Regions from separate parts of the Homo sapiens genome. Here region 1 is linked to region 2. The links are contacts of gene promoters, found by promoter capture Hi-C in human tissues and cell types (Jung and others, 2019). All regions are on one chromosome and are shown on one strand. Each heading gives the region's core, a stretch centred on a gene start or on the middle of the fragment in contact. The rest is flanking DNA. Distances are from core to core; before and after follow the strand shown. Region 1 overlaps CLTCL1 (clathrin heavy chain like 1). Region 2 holds the start of DGCR2 (DiGeorge syndrome critical region gene 2).

What was found. The method cuts DNA at HindIII sites, captures the fragments that hold promoters and counts their contacts. A contact is called where the count stands out against the background at its distance.
Region 1: a contact is called between a fragment that was not itself captured here and the fragment with the promoter of DGCR2 in region 2, in 1 of the 25 tissues and cell types used here (spleen).

The regions. Positions count from the first base shown.
Region 1 is chr22:19,285,512-19,289,656 of GRCh38, reverse strand. All of the region lies in intron 1 of CLTCL1 (clathrin heavy chain like 1), which reads left to right. Among named protein-coding and RNA genes, the nearest start is that of CLTCL1, 4.1 kb to the left of the region's middle. The HindIII fragment of the contact is 5,026 bases long and covers 173-4,145 here.
Region 2 is chr22:19,120,067-19,124,248 of GRCh38, reverse strand. It overlaps DGCR2 (DiGeorge syndrome critical region gene 2), which reads left to right and starts at 1,837. Exons shown (of 10, transcript NM_005137.3): 1 at 1,837-2,121. The coding sequence starts at 2,043. RefSeq lists silencers at 1,513-1,952, 2,073-2,192 and an enhancer at 1,977-2,478. The HindIII fragment of the contact is 22,645 bases long and covers 1-4,182 here.

The DNA.
Region 1 (4,145 bases), core at 1,436-3,935, 160 kb before region 2:
GTTGTTTCTTCCTGTTTGTGTTGGGCAATGCTCACCTCTCTTCCATCTGTACAACCAGCAAACTTCTTCCCCCGCTCTTGTCCCCACGAAGCTCTTGTCTCATAGCTGGATGTCATGAAAGAGCTGCTTTAGTGCTTCATTATTTTTATGTTCCACAGTAACCTGCAGTCTGGCTTTTGTCCCCATTTTTTCCCCTGAATCTGTTTTTGCCAAGGTTACAAGCCATCCTGCAGGCTTTTTTGTAAGGGCCACATTCTGTCTCTGTCCCATATTCTTACATTTTTTAACCTTCTAAAAATATGAAAAAGACTTTTAGTTTAGCCATACAAAAGCAGGCTGCAGTTGGCTAATCTTTGCTGTAAAAAATAAAATCAGGCCGAGCATGGTGGCTCACACCTGTAATCCCACCACTTTGGGAGGCCGAGGCGGGTGGATCACCTGAGATCAGGAGTTCGAGACCAGCCTGGCCAACATGGTGAAACCTCGTCTCTACTAAAAATACAGTATTAGCCGGGCGTGTTGGTACGCACCTGTAGTCCCAGCTAGTCAGGAGGCTGAGGCGGGAGAATCTCTTGAACCCGGGAGGCAGAGGTTGCAGTGAGCCAAAATCATGTCACTACTCTCCAGCCTGGGTAACAGACCGAGACTCCGTCTCAAAAAATAAGATGCGATGAGCTAGGTGAGATAAAGCCCATCACACCACACGCATCTTCTGTGATGTCCAGCCGCATTTGATGCTGCACTTTACTGCCTCCTGAGGGTCCTTTCTCTACTGTTTTTGGTTCCACAGTTTCCCAGGGTTTCTCCTTCCTCTCTGCCCACACCCACTGCCCCATGGGCGGCTCTTGTGCATGAGCTTGGAATCTGTCTTGAGCCCCTCTGCTTTTTCATTCAGGACATGCTGCTGGTGATGTTATGTATTCCCATAAGCTTGATGTTCCCAAGCCATCCGAGTGTTTTCGCAGTTTCACTGCTGTGTGTGTGTGAGGCAGTAGCAGGTCCTGGTTAAGAGCACAGACTGAGGCCAAACTGAAGGCACTGAATGTGGACTCAGGCACTTACTGGCTGTGTGATTTAGGGCAATGTTTGTAGCTTTTTTGTGCTTCTATATCTTCATCTATAAAATAAGGATAAAAGGTATACTTCTTATCTCACAAGGTAGTTGTGAGGTTTTTGAGTTAATAAATGTAAAGCATTAAACAATAACTGTTACATAATACAGTAGTCCCGATTTACCCATGGGGAATATGTTCTAAGACCCCCAGAGGATGCCTGAAACTGCAGATTGTTCTGAACCCTTTATACACTTTTTTTCCCTATGCATACATATGTATGATAAAGCTGAATTTATGTTAAGCACAGTAAGAGATTAACAATGATAACTAATAATAAAACAGAACAATAATAACAATATGCCAGCATCACTACTGTTGGACTTTGGGGCCATTATTAAGTAAATTAAGGGTTACTTGAACACAAACTCTGTGATGCTGCAACAGTCAACCTGGTAACTGACCGCTACTAAGTGACTAATGGGCTGGCAATGTCTACAGCGTGGATATGCTGGGCAGAGGAGGGATAATTCACGTCCTGGGTGGGCTGGTGCAAGATTTCATCACTCTGCAGAATGGTATGCAATTTAAAACTTATGAATTGTTTATTTCTGGGGTCTTACATTTAATATTTTCAGACTATAGGTAACAGTGTGAAAAAAACCACGGATAAGAAGGGACTACTGTAAAGCACTGTGTCCTTGTGAGCTGTTGCTGCCATTGTGACAGCTGCCTACTGAAGAAGGCCAGGAAATGGTCAGCAGGTTCCTCAAACACAGTGTTCATAAATGGGGTTCCCTTTCTCCCCAGATGTGTATCTTGTCCAGTGTCCAGCCAGGAGCCTGGGATGTGTTTTCCCCATCCTGTTGTCCCTTTCTCCTGTTTACTTTTGGCATCGTTCTGCCACTGTCATCATGACTACCGTTTCCCTAAACTATGCCATCCCTCCCCACCTTGATGGTCATGCTAGCTTTGTCCTTCTACTTCTAGTCTTGCCCTCCTGTGATCCATTCTCCAGCACACAGGCAACATGATCTCCAAGGATGAGCATCTGCTTAAAGTCCTTCAGGGAGTGGTTTCGTGTTTCCTCTGGCATGAAAAGACTGATCCCCACGTGCTCTTTCCTGTTCTTCCCAGCCCAACACCTGCTCAACTCTGCTGCCGCTCCCTTTGTGTCCTTGCCAAAACACATTCTCCTCTCACCCCTCTTTACTCACTGACTCCTACTGAGCCTTCTGGTATCTGTGGAAATGACGCTGTCTCTGGAAGCTCTCCCTGATTTGTCAGTTAGGAGTTCTTCCTCTGTGCCTCTTTGGGGTTCCTCTTATAATGACACTCTTCCCAGGGTACTGTAGCTGTTCATTTTCTCTGCTGGATTGTGAGCTCAGGGAGCTACCATTTGAACTTTTTAGAAATATTCAAATGTGAGAGTTGGAAGGGTATTGCTGTTTGTAATATCTGAGGATGGGCTGAGCACTTAAGACATCTTGATTCAGAAGAGGAATGGCTGAATAGTTTGGTGACATAAAAATTTTCTTGAGCCCTAAGTAATTCCCCCCAGCTATATCAAAAAAGCAGCTCCAAGTTTGTAAGCTGTGAAATGTGTCATAGCTCAATACACAGAAAACGTAAACATGTTCCCTCAAAGTGTCTCTGAGGCGGTGTTTGAAACAGGTGTAGAGACCTTGAGCATTAGAATTGTAGGAGAAAGATGGTCAAGATCTTAATCAGTGCTTCTCTACCTAGGCTGCATGTGAGAATGGCCTGCAGCCTTAAACATATTTCTGCTGGATGTTAAATCCAAAGCTCTGAGTGGTGGAGATGGAGCTTTGGTATTCCTTCCCAGGTGAGTCTTACACACAGCCCAGGTGAAACAGCCTTCTACATGTTAGTCAATATTAATCATTAAGGAAAGAGGGGGGAAAGTAAAACTGTGAAGGTGTAGATTGAGCTTGAACTGAAAACAGTTCCCATCCACACACACCCGTGTGTGTCTGGAGAGGCTTCTGGGGGTCATGCTCCAAAAAGGGACACGTACCCATAGTAATCCAGTCCATATTTGGTTTATGTTGCCATTATGTAGCTATCTCATTTTGTGAAGTGGTTTTTGATGTACTAAGACAGCAGTTGGCTCATTGCATCCTAAAATTATTGCATCCCATGTAAAATGTCATTTTAAGATACCATGTAAACTGTTAAATTTTGCCTGTTGGCCTACCACTGCTTCTGGTATTGGAAATACATACTGGCCAGTTAGTTGCCTTCTGACTTGTTTATTTACAAAGCAAGGAGAGTAACCTGCCTCAGCCAGGGTGTCTGCGAGGGTGAGCCTTGTGGGAGTACCTACCGCTGTGGCATTGTGGGTGACCAAAGAGTAAATGAATTTGAATGGGGACTCTTTGGAAAAACAGATCTTCACCATAGAACATTTAAATGTTCAGAATGCCTAAGCTACACAAACCAGTGCTTTTTTAGTTGGTTGGGTTGAAAGAATTAAGTCCTAGGAGGATCTGAGTCAAGGTTCCTCTCTGCTGAGATATTTCTGTTGCAGGGGCTAGTCTGATGGGAATTAAAATCTTTCAGTTCAGCCTCTGTCTGTCTCTCCCCAGGGGAAACCACTATAAACGAAGCCACCATATCCTTCCAAAAATGTTCAAAAGAATCCTGCTTTAAATATGCTTCTGCCCTTTGCTTTTGTAACTTAACACACTGAAGATCCTCCCATAGGATCACAGACAGATCACTGCATCTATCTGACATGTTGTTTATCAGTATTCCCTAGGGTAGTAGTTGCTGGCACCCTGTCACCCCCTTCTCTAAGGGGGAATCTTTCTGCAATCTGTCTGATTTTTCCTTCCTTTGCTTCTTCACTGAGACTTTACTGAGTTTGCAGGCTCTTCTCCCACATTTTCTTCCACTTCTCTTGAGGCCTGCTGCTGGCCTCCATGCCAGAGAGATGACCATCACTCTTGGCAGGCTGAAGAAGGATGCCACAAAGCTGGGATAGCAAAGTTCAGTGATGAAATTAGAATCGGATATATCTTGACAGGCCAGAATCCAGCTAGTTGACATTTAACTGGGATAAATATAGAG
Region 2 (4,182 bases), core at 588-3,087:
TCAGGCCGTGATAGGAAGTGGGAGTCAGGCCTCATTATCCCTCCTCCCTTCAGGTTTCAGGCACAGCTAAGCAGTGTAACATCGACACAGAGACTTGAAGACTGACAACAGACTCTGTGGCAGTAAGATACCAGCATGACAGCAGGCCCGGAAGGAAACACATATTTTACTGCAAAACAGGTTTCTTTCACATATTTTGAAGTCGCTCTGCAAAGCTGTTTTTTGTGGGGAAAATCTACATTCTGTAGAGAATCCCTATCCCTTTCAAGGTCTTTTCTCCTGAGAGAATTAACTAGAGTCTGGCACCTTTTATTTATTTTTCCTTTTTTTTTTCCTTTTTTTTTTTTTTTTTTTTGAGACAGAGTCTTACTCTGTTGCCCAGGCTGGAGTGCAGTGGCATGATCTTGGCTCACTGCAACCTCTGCCTCCCCGGTTCAAGCGATTCTCCTGCCATCAGCCTCCTGAGTAGCTGGGATTACAGGCGTGTGCCACCACGCCTGGGTAACTTTTGTATTTTTAGTAGAGATGTGGTTTCACCATGTTGGCCAGGCTGATCTTGAACTCCTGACCTCAGGTGATCCGCCCGCCTTGGCCTCCCAAAGTGCTGGGATGACAGGCGTGAGCCACCACACCCGGCAGAGTCTGGCACTTTTTAATAAGAAACATTAACAGTCTTTTCTCTGTGAAGCCTGATACCTGGAGGCTTCATTTGCCTAAGAAACTTGGTCTCCACAACCCCTTAATGTAGACAGTCCCTTTTATTGATTCCAGGTCTTTAGATAAACTCTTTGAACCAACTGCCAATCCGCATGACCTAGAAGCCCCCCTCCACCCCCCACTTTCAAGTTGTCCCGCCTTTTCCGACTGAACCAATGTATATCTTACATGTGCTGATTGATGTCTTGTCTCCCTAAAATGTATAAAACCAAGCTGTGGCCCTACCCCCTTGGGCACTTGTCAGGATCTCCTGGGGCTGTGTCCCAGGCTATTGGTCACATATTGGCTCAGAAGAAATGTCTTCAAATATTTTACAGAGTTGGACTCTTCGCCGACACTGCCCTCCAAGGTTCACCCTGTTGGTGATGACGGGAGAAGTGGCACTTGGAGCACTGTTCGCAGGGGCGCTGAGCCTCCTCTCTGCCTAGCTTTCTTTCCTGCACATGTGGCCTTCCCCTAGCCATTGTGTAGGCAGGTCCTCCAGGGAGCCGGCTTCGCTGCAGTCTCCAGGACCTGGCCTTCCCGGTCTCTCTTTGCCTGACACTCTCTTAGGCCATTCCTGTTCCTCTTTCCCCACCCTCAGAACCGGCAGGCCCTCCCTCCTCCACAGCGGTTCGGCCTTAAAAAGACCCCTTTGGGGCGCACTTTTGGGCTGCTCACGGGACCTGAGCTTGCAGGTGTGAAGACCCTTGGAGTCCCAGCCAGGTTCCCACTTCGTTCTCTCCGCTCCCCACCCGCGCGACCCCTCGGCGCCCCGCCCCATGCCCCGCGCCTTTCGATGTCCATCCTTGCCGTCCCGCGCCCGCCGTCCCTAACCGGCGTCCAGAGACCCTACTCCCTTCGGTGGCCCCGCCGCTCAGGCCCCGGCCCCGGCCCTGCCTCTCTGCTTAACCAATGGCACGCCTCACTCCGTATGGTCCCGCCCTTCCCTTAGAGCCCGCCCCTCAGTCCCCGCCCTTAGGTCCCCGCCCTCCGCCGTCGCGACCTTAGGCCTCACCCTCTTCGGAGGGCTTTGGCTCTGGCCCCGCCCCCCATCTTGACGGTCATTGGCCCGCGCCTGCGTCGCGGGCGGGAGGCGGGGCGGGGCGGCGCGGCGCGGAGCCGAGCAGGACGGCCGCCATCTTGCGCGCAGCTGGAGTCGGTGCCTGAGGTTGCAGCCGAGAGTGTGCGCCAGCCCGCGGCCCAGCCGAAGCTCTTTCCCGCCGCCTCTCCGCGCCTCGCCCAGGTTCAGCTCCGCCTGACCCTCCGCTTGGCACGGTCCCCTGACCCTCAGTCCGGCCTGGTCCGGCCTTCCAGCCGCCCCGGGGACGATGAACGGAGGATAAATGGTGCCCAAGGCAGACAGCGGCGCCTTCCTGCTGCTCTTCCTGCTCGTGCTCACTGTCACCGAGCCGCTGCGGCCAGGTGCGCCGCGCGATGGGGGCGGTGTGGGGGCTGGGCGGCGAGCGGGGCCGGGGTCGCCCCGGGACCTCCTTTCACCCGCGGCGCCCTCCTGCAGGGGCCGCGCCTGGGGCAGGGGCGGGCGGGGCCTGGCTCGCGGGCCGCCTGGCACTCTCTGCGGACGCCTGCTGGAGCTTACCTGGGCTCGCGGCGCCTCGGACTTCGTGCAGCTCTGCTGTCCAGGATGTTGCCTCTGGGCCCTTCCCGGGAGCGGCGGCGGCCAGGAGCTACGCCACGGGCGCACCCTCTCGCCAGTCCAGCGTCGGAGTCGGGCTGGGGACAGTGGCTCTCAGGGGCACCTGGTTTCACAGACGTCCTCCCAGCAGTGGCCTAGTGCCAGCCTCTCAGTCCTGGAAACTCCTCGCCTGGACAGCGGTGGTTGTGGCTGTCATTCAGTGAGACGTTGCGCTAAGGAAGTCCTCAGGTCCCACCGGGCCTAGAGGAGGCACCAGGAGTCAGCCTAGCGTTGTGTGGCCGGCGCGAGCGTCCCGGGAGCAGAGACCTCGCCACTGTGCGGGGCCCTTAGCCGTGCTGCGTGTATGTGATGAATGAGTCCGTGCTTTGGAACTCCCCTCGGAGCTAGTGTGTTCTTAAGTCTGTGGTGGGGAATCAGAACCGTGGCAACCAGGAGACCCTTTTCTACCTATTTCGGTGTACCTCCCCTTGAACTGCACCAAAAAATCAAACTCCCTAAATGCAGGGCCGATGTATCCATCAGGCACAGGAATCCTGGTATCACTTGCCCACGGTACTTTTAGTAGCCTTCGAATGTTATTTTATTTTTTTTTAAAGTCAGCAGAAAAAAAATGAACTTTTAGGTCAAATAAAATGTTTTCGTATGTATATTAATACAGTCATCTTTATACTAATACAGTGAAAAAGCATGACTCTTAATATTTCTTAATGGAGGAAAGGTCCCATGAAGGCAGAAGTGCCAGGGCCATCTTCTCTGATGACCTGGGTGTGGGAGCACGGGGTGTGTGGCCCTCTCCTGTGCCCTAGCCAGGCTCCCAGCCCAGATACACCGCACCTCTTGGCTCTGCGCTTGTGTCATCTATGTGGAATGTCTGCCTCCTCCCTAGTGCCTGCCTGGTGGCCAAGGCCCTGACCGGTGCTCAACCTGGACAGATTCAGTGATGCTTCTCTGGTCTCCCCATGTAGAGCTAGTTGCTCACTGCTTTTGGCTGCTCTCTGGGCAGCGGGATGACTAGTTGTGGGGTGGCCTTGGTAAGAACAGAAGCCAGGAAAAGGGCTACCTGTGGAGGAGGGTATCATATAGGCTCTTGGAGGTCAGAACCAATGGGTTTGTGGATTCTTGTGATTAACTTCTTTAGAAAACATATATGTACGTGTAGAGAGGTAGAAGGTCACCGTTTTCTGATTCTTGAGTCCCAGTTTTGCAGATGAGGTCACCGGGCTCAGGTGAGGCCATATTATGCCTGGCTTCTTTGGGGTGCCTCTGGTTCCAGGCCCAGCATCTCCTGCCTGGGTGATAGAGGTGACTGACGTCCCCGACTCCTTTTTCCTTGCCAGCCTTTTCACATAGCCTGCCAACTGGCCAGCAGCAACTGAGAAAGTGCCTGTGGGTGCTTGCCCCCTGCCCATCCCTAGGGAATCCAAGTGACAAGAACAAGCCCCTCCTTTTAGGAGTGCCTGATGTGGAACAGAGGCCAGGTGTAAGTCACTTGTCACACTCCTGTGTGTTGAATACCCTGGAGTGTGGGGTCCCAGAGGTGGGTGGAGGTGGCCATCTTTTTGTACCTGTGAAGCAGTGAGGGCGTCACAGGAGACCTCACACTGAGGTCGGAGTAGGGCATGGGTGGGGTGGATCTGGTAGAGGGAGCAAACTTATTCTTTCGATTCCATGACTCTCCAGATGAGAACATTGCAGCTACCCCTGGAGGCGTCTTGAGTTGCCCTGCAGAACCCGGGAGCTGCAGCTGGCTTCCTGGCTTTGGCTGGGCAGGGAGGGCAGGCCTCTGGGCCTGATGTGTTCCTTGTATGCCCGTGTGTGCCTCTTCACAC